3 separate regions of the Homo sapiens genome follow, and all the other regions are linked to region 1. Evidence: promoter capture Hi-C in 16 types of primary human blood cells and fetal thymus (Javierre and others, 2016). All regions are on one chromosome and are shown on one strand. Each heading gives the region's core, a stretch centred on a gene start or on the middle of the fragment in contact. The rest is flanking DNA. Distances are from core to core; before and after follow the strand shown.

Region 1 (2,679 bases), core at 54-2,553:
ACAAATGTTTAATAGAGCAAGTTGCTTGACTGTTCAAAGCCTCCATTTCTAACTCTGTAAAATGGTGATAATAATCTAACATACCTCCTGGAATTGTTGAGAGGAATAAATGACAAACTATGTAAAGCACTCGGCACACATAAGACTCAGTTAATGGCAACTATCGTTATTATTTTATCTATCTGAGACAAAAAAATTATCTATTTCATTTAAGAATTCTCAATAGCAAAACAAAATCCTGTCCCAGTGTAGAGCGAGGATTTTACGTGCTAAGGTCAGCTATGCTTCCCACTTCCACAGTTAAGCCTTCCAGCAAGACAACTACTAGCCAAAGGACACCAAGAGTCGCAATCTCCCAGGAAGTGGTCAAGAACCTCGTGAATGAGATCCAGGGATCATCACCCTGGCCCCTTCTTCTTCAAGGCGCAGAAGGCTGCAACGACCTCCAAATGACTAGGTGCGGCAGTGCCCTGCAGCCTCGGTCCCTACTATGAAAAGCTGCAACACATGAGGCTTTTGTTATTTTAAAGTGGGTGTGGGGTTGACAGAGAGAGGGATAAAGACTAAGGCAGAAAATTTTTTAAAAAGCCACCTCTACCCACAGCAGTCCCATAACTCGAGGCTAATCACTTCAGTGGAGCCAGGCACAGCGTGGGGTAGAAGCTCAGCGGTTCCCTTTTAGCTGATCTTCAATTTCTGGCGTCTCGAACCCAAGAAATGAAAAAGGGAAGCCATGGGGGAGCAGGAGGAGAAATCAAGGCGCGAAAGGACCCTCAAAGCTGTACTGTCACTCCACGCCCAGGCTGTCATTCTCTCCAGCACAAGCCCCTCGGTGGAGCATGTGTTTAGGGTCTGCAGAGCACAGGAGACAAAGCAGAAGCCCAGCAGCCGCCTCAACCCTGGCATGATCAGGTTCCGCATCTCCGGTTCTCCTCCGGTTTTGGGCCCTCACCTGCCACGAATGCGGTCGTCACGCGAGCAGTTGTGAGATGGTCAAGCCCATTCAGGTCTAGGTTACCCCCTTTCATCCCGGAGGCAGGGGTGAGGTGTTTGTCAAGAGACTTCAGTTGTAGGCGTGGACGTAGGCTACTTCCTTCAGTAACAGCTATAGGGCCACATAAGGGAACCTCAGGCTACTACACCTCAGGAATCTCCGTCACGCCTCTTCCCCGCCCTCCTCGGGTCTCACGCCGAAACCTCACCGGGCGGAACGATTTCCGGCAAGAGCCAAATGATCAGTCCTAACCTTTCTGACCGTGGTTCCAAGGTTCCCCAAAGGACTGCCCTCTAAAGGACCCGGGTAGTTCCGCTTCCGGCAGCGCGAGATAAATCACGAGAGGAAGCTTAAATCTGTCGTTTGAATTTAGGACCACCTCGGTGAGTGGTCGTTCTGGTGTGCTGTGTCATACCTACTGTTTTTTAAAGTGAGGCGTAACCCGACAGTAATTTCAAAACCATTCGCCTCGACCGGCCTAAGGAAGGGTTTAATTGAGTCTGTGGGGAGATTTTGCGCAAGCGCCTTTGAGATAGGAGGGCCTTGGGCGTTGCGATGTCCCGCGCTAGCTGAGCAGAAAGGGCGAGTGCTGTTTCGGGCCTGGGGAGGTGCCTACTGGGTGTAATTGAGTTTTACCAAACGGTCATTTTCCTGCTGATTCTGAGTGTGGTTGGACCTTGCCCTTAAGATTCCGTTAACGAGTCGCCCAAAGCTTAGGAAATGCTCCCTCACAGCGTTTGAGACTAAGCACTTTTGGCCGGCGTTGAAGAATTCTCCCCATTACTTTGATCAGTCATTTAATCAGAAATTTTGCCCCAAATTTAAATACGTGGCGGGGAGAAACGTGAGGTCAAGAGGGAATCCTGTCACGTAGTTTTAAAAGAAAAATGTCCACTTTATCTCAGTGTAGGTTTTTCTTAAATGGGCATTTCTGAACCAAAGTAGATACTTTTTAAAGTGGAAATGCATTTATCCCATGTGGCTTCATGTGAATGCATATGGCGATGAAGGCATTTTTTTGTTCAATGAATTTGTACTCTGAAGTGAACCAGATTACAGAGAAGTGTATTTAAATTTACAGGTCCTTGACGTTGCATAAAATTGTGCGTGTCCATTTTTTGGAGCTTAAAATAGAATAATTCAAATGTCAGAATTCCGATCCAAGTTAACATGTTGATTGAAAATTGCAGATTTTAAGATGGAACCAGCGGGTATTATAACCTTTTAGGGGCTTAAATTGGTGGCTTTGTTTTTAACCCTTGGTGAAACAGTTAAGTCCTAATCTTGACATAATACCTAACTGCCTTACTTTATTGAACACAAAATTATTAAAGGAATTAAGCAATGAGTTGATTTTATTTGCTTTTATGGAGGGGACAAAGTGTATAAAGCTTAACCAAATGTGACCCTGACATTCCTCTTGCAAAACTACAAGTTGTAATCAATCACTTTCATTTTTTCTTATTCCTACATGTTTAAGTACATTAAGTAATGATTTTAAGAGAAATTCTTGAAAATATGAGCATATCCAAAGAAGTCCCAGGACAGTCTTTCTTTATGTAGTAGAAACCACTTAATCCCCCTTGTAAATGATACCTTTACTTAGCAATCAGAGTATAAGAAGATATTTATATTTGTCTCGAATATTACAGTTTCAAGCCATTTTCTCATATGTATGGGCTTTG
Region 2 (2,679 bases), core at 85-2,584, 7.6 Mb after region 1:
CTCTAAACGAAGACCAAAATGTTATTAGAGAAAATATTTAAAAATTTTCTAGAAGTTTTGGTTTTTGACTTCATGTAGTTTTTACACACTAACAAATCATTTAAAAACTAGGCTACTACTAGTACTGCTGATAATGGTATCAATGGGAGACGGTCAGTAGAATATTTCATTCTGAACTGAAAGGCATCTTAACACAGCTGGCTGATGAAAAAGAGAGAAAGTAAGTTTTCCATAGTATGTTAATGTGGTTTACAATGGATAGCCAGTTATAAGTGAAAACACAGTTCTGTCAAATTTAGTTGGCAGAGAAAATCTTGAAAAATGGCTTTTGTTATAACTTCTATAACTTACTAATAGCCCATTTCAATTTTCTCAAGGCCATTCCTATGGTTCAAACAAATTAAGCACTCTAAAATTGGGCATTTAAGAAATAAAAATGACCCATTAATTGGCTTTCTGCAAAAGTTACAGAAATGGTACCAACTGCCTTTAGTTGCTGCATTCTGCTCTTGTTAATTAATTCTCATGGGTCCACACATTTTTCCCCCTTGGGGTGGGTAAGTCTTTTTGTAGATACAATTTTGTGATTTTGATTGCTCCTTCTGAACCATGGCTTGTACTCGGTTCCTTATCATTATGGGCCATGCAGAATCAGAGAAGTTTAGGTTTGAATTAATCATCCTAATAAAAGAATGTAACAGCAACTTTAATTTGCCATGTCAGCATGGCAAGACTGCTTATAGTGTTCTTCCCAGATCTGTCCATCAGACTGAATGAGATTCTCACTAGACTCTCTAGTAAACACTCCTGTACCTACTCTCCCCTGCCACTCCTGAAACCTCAGCAAAACTAAAACTGATACAGGTGCAGTGGCAGGGAGTAGAGGTAGGAGTAGGAGTGGGGATGCAGAAGATGCCTCTGTCCTTTAAGACCCAGGCAGAGATGCTTCTTTTCTATTATTTATTTAATTTTAAATTTTTATTTATTTTTTTTGAGACAGAGACTCACCCTGTCACCAAGGCTGGAGTCCAGTGGCACAATCTCGGTTCACTGCAACCTCTGTATTCTAGGTTTAAGCGATTCTCCTGACTCAGCCTCCCGAGTAGCTGGGCAGGTGCCCACCACCATGCCTGGCTAATTTTTGTATTCTTAGTAGAGATGGGGTTTCACCATGTTGGCCAGGCTGGTCTCGAACTTCTGACCTCAGGTGATCTGCTCGCCGTGGCTTCCCAAAGTGCTGGTATTACAGGTGTGAACCACCGTGCCTAGCCTGTTTTCTGTTCTTTTAAAAATGGGTTTATTAAGATATAATTAACACACTAAACAACTCATCCATTTAAAGTGTACAATTCAATGGTTTTTAGTGTATTCAGAAAGCTGTGCAACCATTACCATAGTCGATTTTAGAATGTTCTCATCATCCCCAAAAGACATTCTGCACTCTTTAGCCATTACTCTCTATTTTCCTGAAGCCTAGGCAACCACTAACCTACTTTCCGGCTCTATGTTTGCTTTTTCTGGACATTTCATATGAATGGAATCATACAATATGTGGTCCTTTTTGACTAGCTTCTTTCATTTAGCATAATCTTTTTAAGTTTCATCTATATTGTAGCATATACCATATTTTTTATTGTTGAATAATATTACCAAATTTTATTTATCCATTTATCAATTGATGGGCATTTGGGTTGTTTATACTGTTTGGCCATTATGTATAATGAACATTATAATGCTATGAACATTCATGTAGAAGTTTTTGTGTAGACTTATATTTTCATTTCCCTTGAATATACACCTAGGAGTAAAACTGCTGGATTATACAGCAACTCTATGGTTAACCATTCGAGAAACTGCCAAACTGATTTCCAATGGCTGCGTGATCCTACCAGCAGGGTATGGGTTGCAATTCCTCCACATTGTTGCCATCTCTAGTTATTGTCTTTTTCATTATAACCATCCCAGTGGGTATAACTGGTGTCTCACTGTGGTTTTGATTTACATTTCCCGAATGATTAATGATGTTGAGCATCTTTTCATGTATTTATTTGTCATCTGCGTATCTTCTATGAAGAAATGTCTATTAAGATCTTTTGGCCGGGCATGGTGGTTCATGCCGGTAATCCCAGCACTTTGGGAGGCCTAGGCGGGTATATCCCAAGGTCAGGAGATCGAGACCATCCTGGCTAATACGGTGAAACCCCATCTCTACTAAAAATAAAAATTAAAAAATTATCTGGGTGTGGTGGCGGGCACCTGTAGTCCCAGCTACTCAGGAGACTGAGGCAGGAGAATGGCTTGAACCTGGGAGGCAGAAGTTGCAGTAAGCCGAGATTGCGCCACTGCACTCCGGCCTGGGTGACAGAGCGAGACTCCATTTCAAAAAAAAAAAAAAAAAAAAGATCTTTTGCCCATCTTTTAATTGCCTAATCCACAATCACAAAGACTTACACCTATGTTTTCTTGTAAGAGTTTTTTAGTTTTACATTTGATTAATCAATCAATTTACTTAAAGTTTTTTTTTGTGTGTTTGTGTATGGTGCAAGGCAGGGTCCAACTTCATTCATATTTTTTTTTTCCAGCACCATTTGTTTAAAAGATCATTCTTTCCCTATTAAATGGTCTTGGCACCCTTGTTAAAAAATCAATTTACTATAAATATGAGAGTTTATTTCTGGA
Region 3 (2,679 bases), core at 124-2,623, 5.9 Mb after region 1:
AATTAGTAATACTGATACCATACATGTCAATGTACTTCTTATACTAATAGTTTGTATCTTGTAATATTCAGTCAGTAAATGAGCAGCTTGGTAGGGATCATTTACACATTTTCCCAAAAGGGTAGTAGGTGTTTTTCAGGATATTTATATTGAAGGTATAGGAATGGAATCTGGTTGCACATAAATGCACTCCTTAATGTATTGATTATTCATAAGAGAGGAACAAGAAGATAAAGATTGGGCTATAGCATGAGGTCTAGGCGATAGCACAAGTTCTAGACAAATATTCACAATCTTTAAGTTTATCACGTGCTATTGATCTGTCTAGGTATGCTCAAAATGGTCTACACTGAAAAAAAGTATTTAAAAACAAAGCAAAGAAAAATATCTGGGAAGTGGGAAGTGGTTTGGTTCTTGTTCACAGAAGGTAAGCAATAGACAACCTTTTGAAATTAATTGCTGGGGTAGTGTAGGGTGAAGGAGTGGATGCCAAAGAAATAACCAGTACGATCTGTGTCTTAAAGTTGAGAAGATAACACATGAAACAGAACCTTTTATTTATTTATTTATTTATTTATTTATTTTCAAGACAAGGTCTCACTCTGTCACCCAGGCTGGAGTGCAGTGGCACGATCACGGCTCACTGCAGCCCCTACCTCCTGGGCTCAAGCCATCCTCCCACCTCAGCCTCCCAAGTATCTAGGATCACAGGCATGTGCTACCATGCCTGCTTTGTAGAGACAGGACCTTGCTGTGTTGCCCAGGCTGCTCTCAAACCCCTGGCCTCAAGAGATTCACCCACCTCGGCCTCCCAAAGTACCGGGGTTATAAGCGTGAGCCACCACTGCAAGTCTAAGAACAATTTTTTTTTTAATTATATACTGAATTTAGAGAAACTTCAGTAAGTGATAGAATAGTTGATGGAGGAGGTTTCAGGTAGTGAGTGGAGCTGAGTGGAGCCATGAAGCTTGGATATTATTTGACCCTAAGACAGTGCATTTTGGCAGAGAAGTGGTATGGGCAATGACATGAATCTATGTGAGTCCTATGTGTTTAGGTGACACTGAGGTGACTGTCCTGACTGCGTTTCTTGGTGTGTATTGGAGAGAATATTGGGAGAACTAGGACTGTACAGGTGGATTAAAGAGTTTTGAAAACCAGGAAAAGTTTATATTTACAAACTGAAAAGAAAATTTACAGCCAATGTAAAAAAAAACTTTTTTTGAGGTGTAGTCTTGCTCTATCACCCAGGCTAGAATGCAGTGGCACGATATCAACTCACTGCAACCTCTGCCTCCCGGGTTCACGCGATTCTCCTGCCTCAGCCTCCCAGGTAGCTGGGACTACAGGCATGTGCCACCACGCCTGGCTAATTTTTTTGTATTTTTAGTAGAGATGGGGTTTCACCATGCTGGCAGGCTGGTGTCGAACTCCTGACCTCAACTGATCCACCCGCCTCGGCCTCCCAAATTGCTGGGGTTACAGACGTGAGACTCCATGCCCATCCCAATGTATATATTTTTAAATGGAATATTAACATCAGCAGGTTAGTCTGGTATTGGTACATAGAATAGGTTAGGTATGATGGCAAGAGCTAGAACACTTGTGGAGTAATGAGGTATATGCCTCCTTACAAGTATATGTTGGTGCAAAAGTAATTGCAGTTTTTGCCATTCCTAATACTAGCATTCTAAATGTCAAAGGGCATAAATCTAAGGTATTTTAAAGAAAGTAATAACAGGGCTTTGTAAACAGTAAGATTGAAGACAGTAAGCTTAGGGGAAAAGATGTATGGAGAGTCTTAACACTTGAATCAGACTACAACAGTGTATATTTTTCACATAATAGATTTATATTGCATATTGTGGCCTGGAGAAAAAGTTCAGTGCCCTATAAACCAAAATGTCTGATCTCTTAGAATGCCTCATTTCCTAATATGTCCGAAGATGAGTATTTCCTAAATTTGTTTCCAATTTAAATATTTTGAGCACATTTCAACAAATGTCAGAGACTTACAAAATAGGAAAGGATATACCCTAAGAGACTGTAAGCTTCTTGGGGGCTTTTTGACACTAATTTTAGAGTGTTTAGAAACTTTTTAACATTCATTTTTGTAACCCCAGCACAGTGCATAACATTTTGTAAATGTTCATTTTTTGTGGAAAAGTGAATTCAAACTTTTGTTTAAAATTTGCTTTTTATGTGTGGCTAATTCTACGCAGTGAATAAATAAGCTATGCATAAATAACCATGTGTTAACTACAATTTTATAAAGGTTTGTGTGTTTTTTTTCTGGTTGTAGAAAGGTATATTTACTTTTATTGTTCTTTAAAGAGTAATGACCTGTTCATTAGCTTACACCTGTTTTGCAACATTTTAGGCATTGTATGAGAGGAAATTTCCAGTTCCAAAGCCAATTGATTACAATCGTCATGCAGTGGTCATGGAACTCATAAATGGTTATCCACTGTAAGTATTCATTATTCTTAAAGCCATGAATCCTGATAAATGAATTTAAGTTTCAGGGTTTTTAATAAAATTTTTTTTAGTTAATGAAATATTGCCTCTGGGAGGTTAAAATTTATTTAAAGGAATAGACTCAAAGACAAATTAAAAACCCAGTTTCATTCTGACAATATGAACTTTGTAATCTCTGTGATTCATTCATTCATTCAATAT

What was found. The method cuts DNA at HindIII sites, captures the fragments that hold promoters and counts their contacts. A CHiCAGO score of 5 or more calls a contact.
Region 2: a contact is called between a fragment that was not itself captured here and the fragment with the promoter of GIN1 in region 1, in 1 of 17 cell types (total CD4 T cells). The highest score is 5.2, in total CD4 T cells.
Region 3: a contact is called between a fragment that was not itself captured here and the fragment with the promoter of GIN1 in region 1, in 1 of 17 cell types (total CD4 T cells). The highest score is 7.6, in total CD4 T cells.

Annotation. Positions count from the first base shown.
Region 1 is chr5:103,118,762-103,121,440 of GRCh38, reverse strand. GIN1 (gypsy retrotransposon integrase 1) reads left to right here and starts at 1,303. Exons shown (of 8, transcript NM_017676.2): 1 at 1,303-1,377. It overlaps PPIP5K2 (diphosphoinositol pentakisphosphate kinase 2), which reads right to left and starts at 1,140. Exons shown (of 31, transcript NM_001276277.3): 1 at 953-1,140. RefSeq lists enhancers at 740-799, 850-1,039, 1,070-1,329, 1,165-1,665, 1,666-2,167. The HindIII fragment of the contact is 9,897 bases long and covers 1-1,345 here.
Region 2 is chr5:95,560,525-95,563,203 of GRCh38, reverse strand. The region is part of intron 1 of ARSK (arylsulfatase family member K); the gene reads right to left. Among named protein-coding and RNA genes, the nearest start is that of ARSK, 6.8 kb to the right of the region's middle. The HindIII fragment of the contact is 2,864 bases long and covers 1-2,679 here.
Region 3 is chr5:97,172,965-97,175,643 of GRCh38, reverse strand. It overlaps RIOK2 (RIO kinase 2), which reads left to right. Exons shown (of 10, transcript NM_018343.3): 5 at 2,381-2,469. Among named protein-coding and RNA genes, the nearest start is that of RIOK2, 8.9 kb to the left of the region's middle. The HindIII fragment of the contact is 807 bases long and covers 970-1,776 here.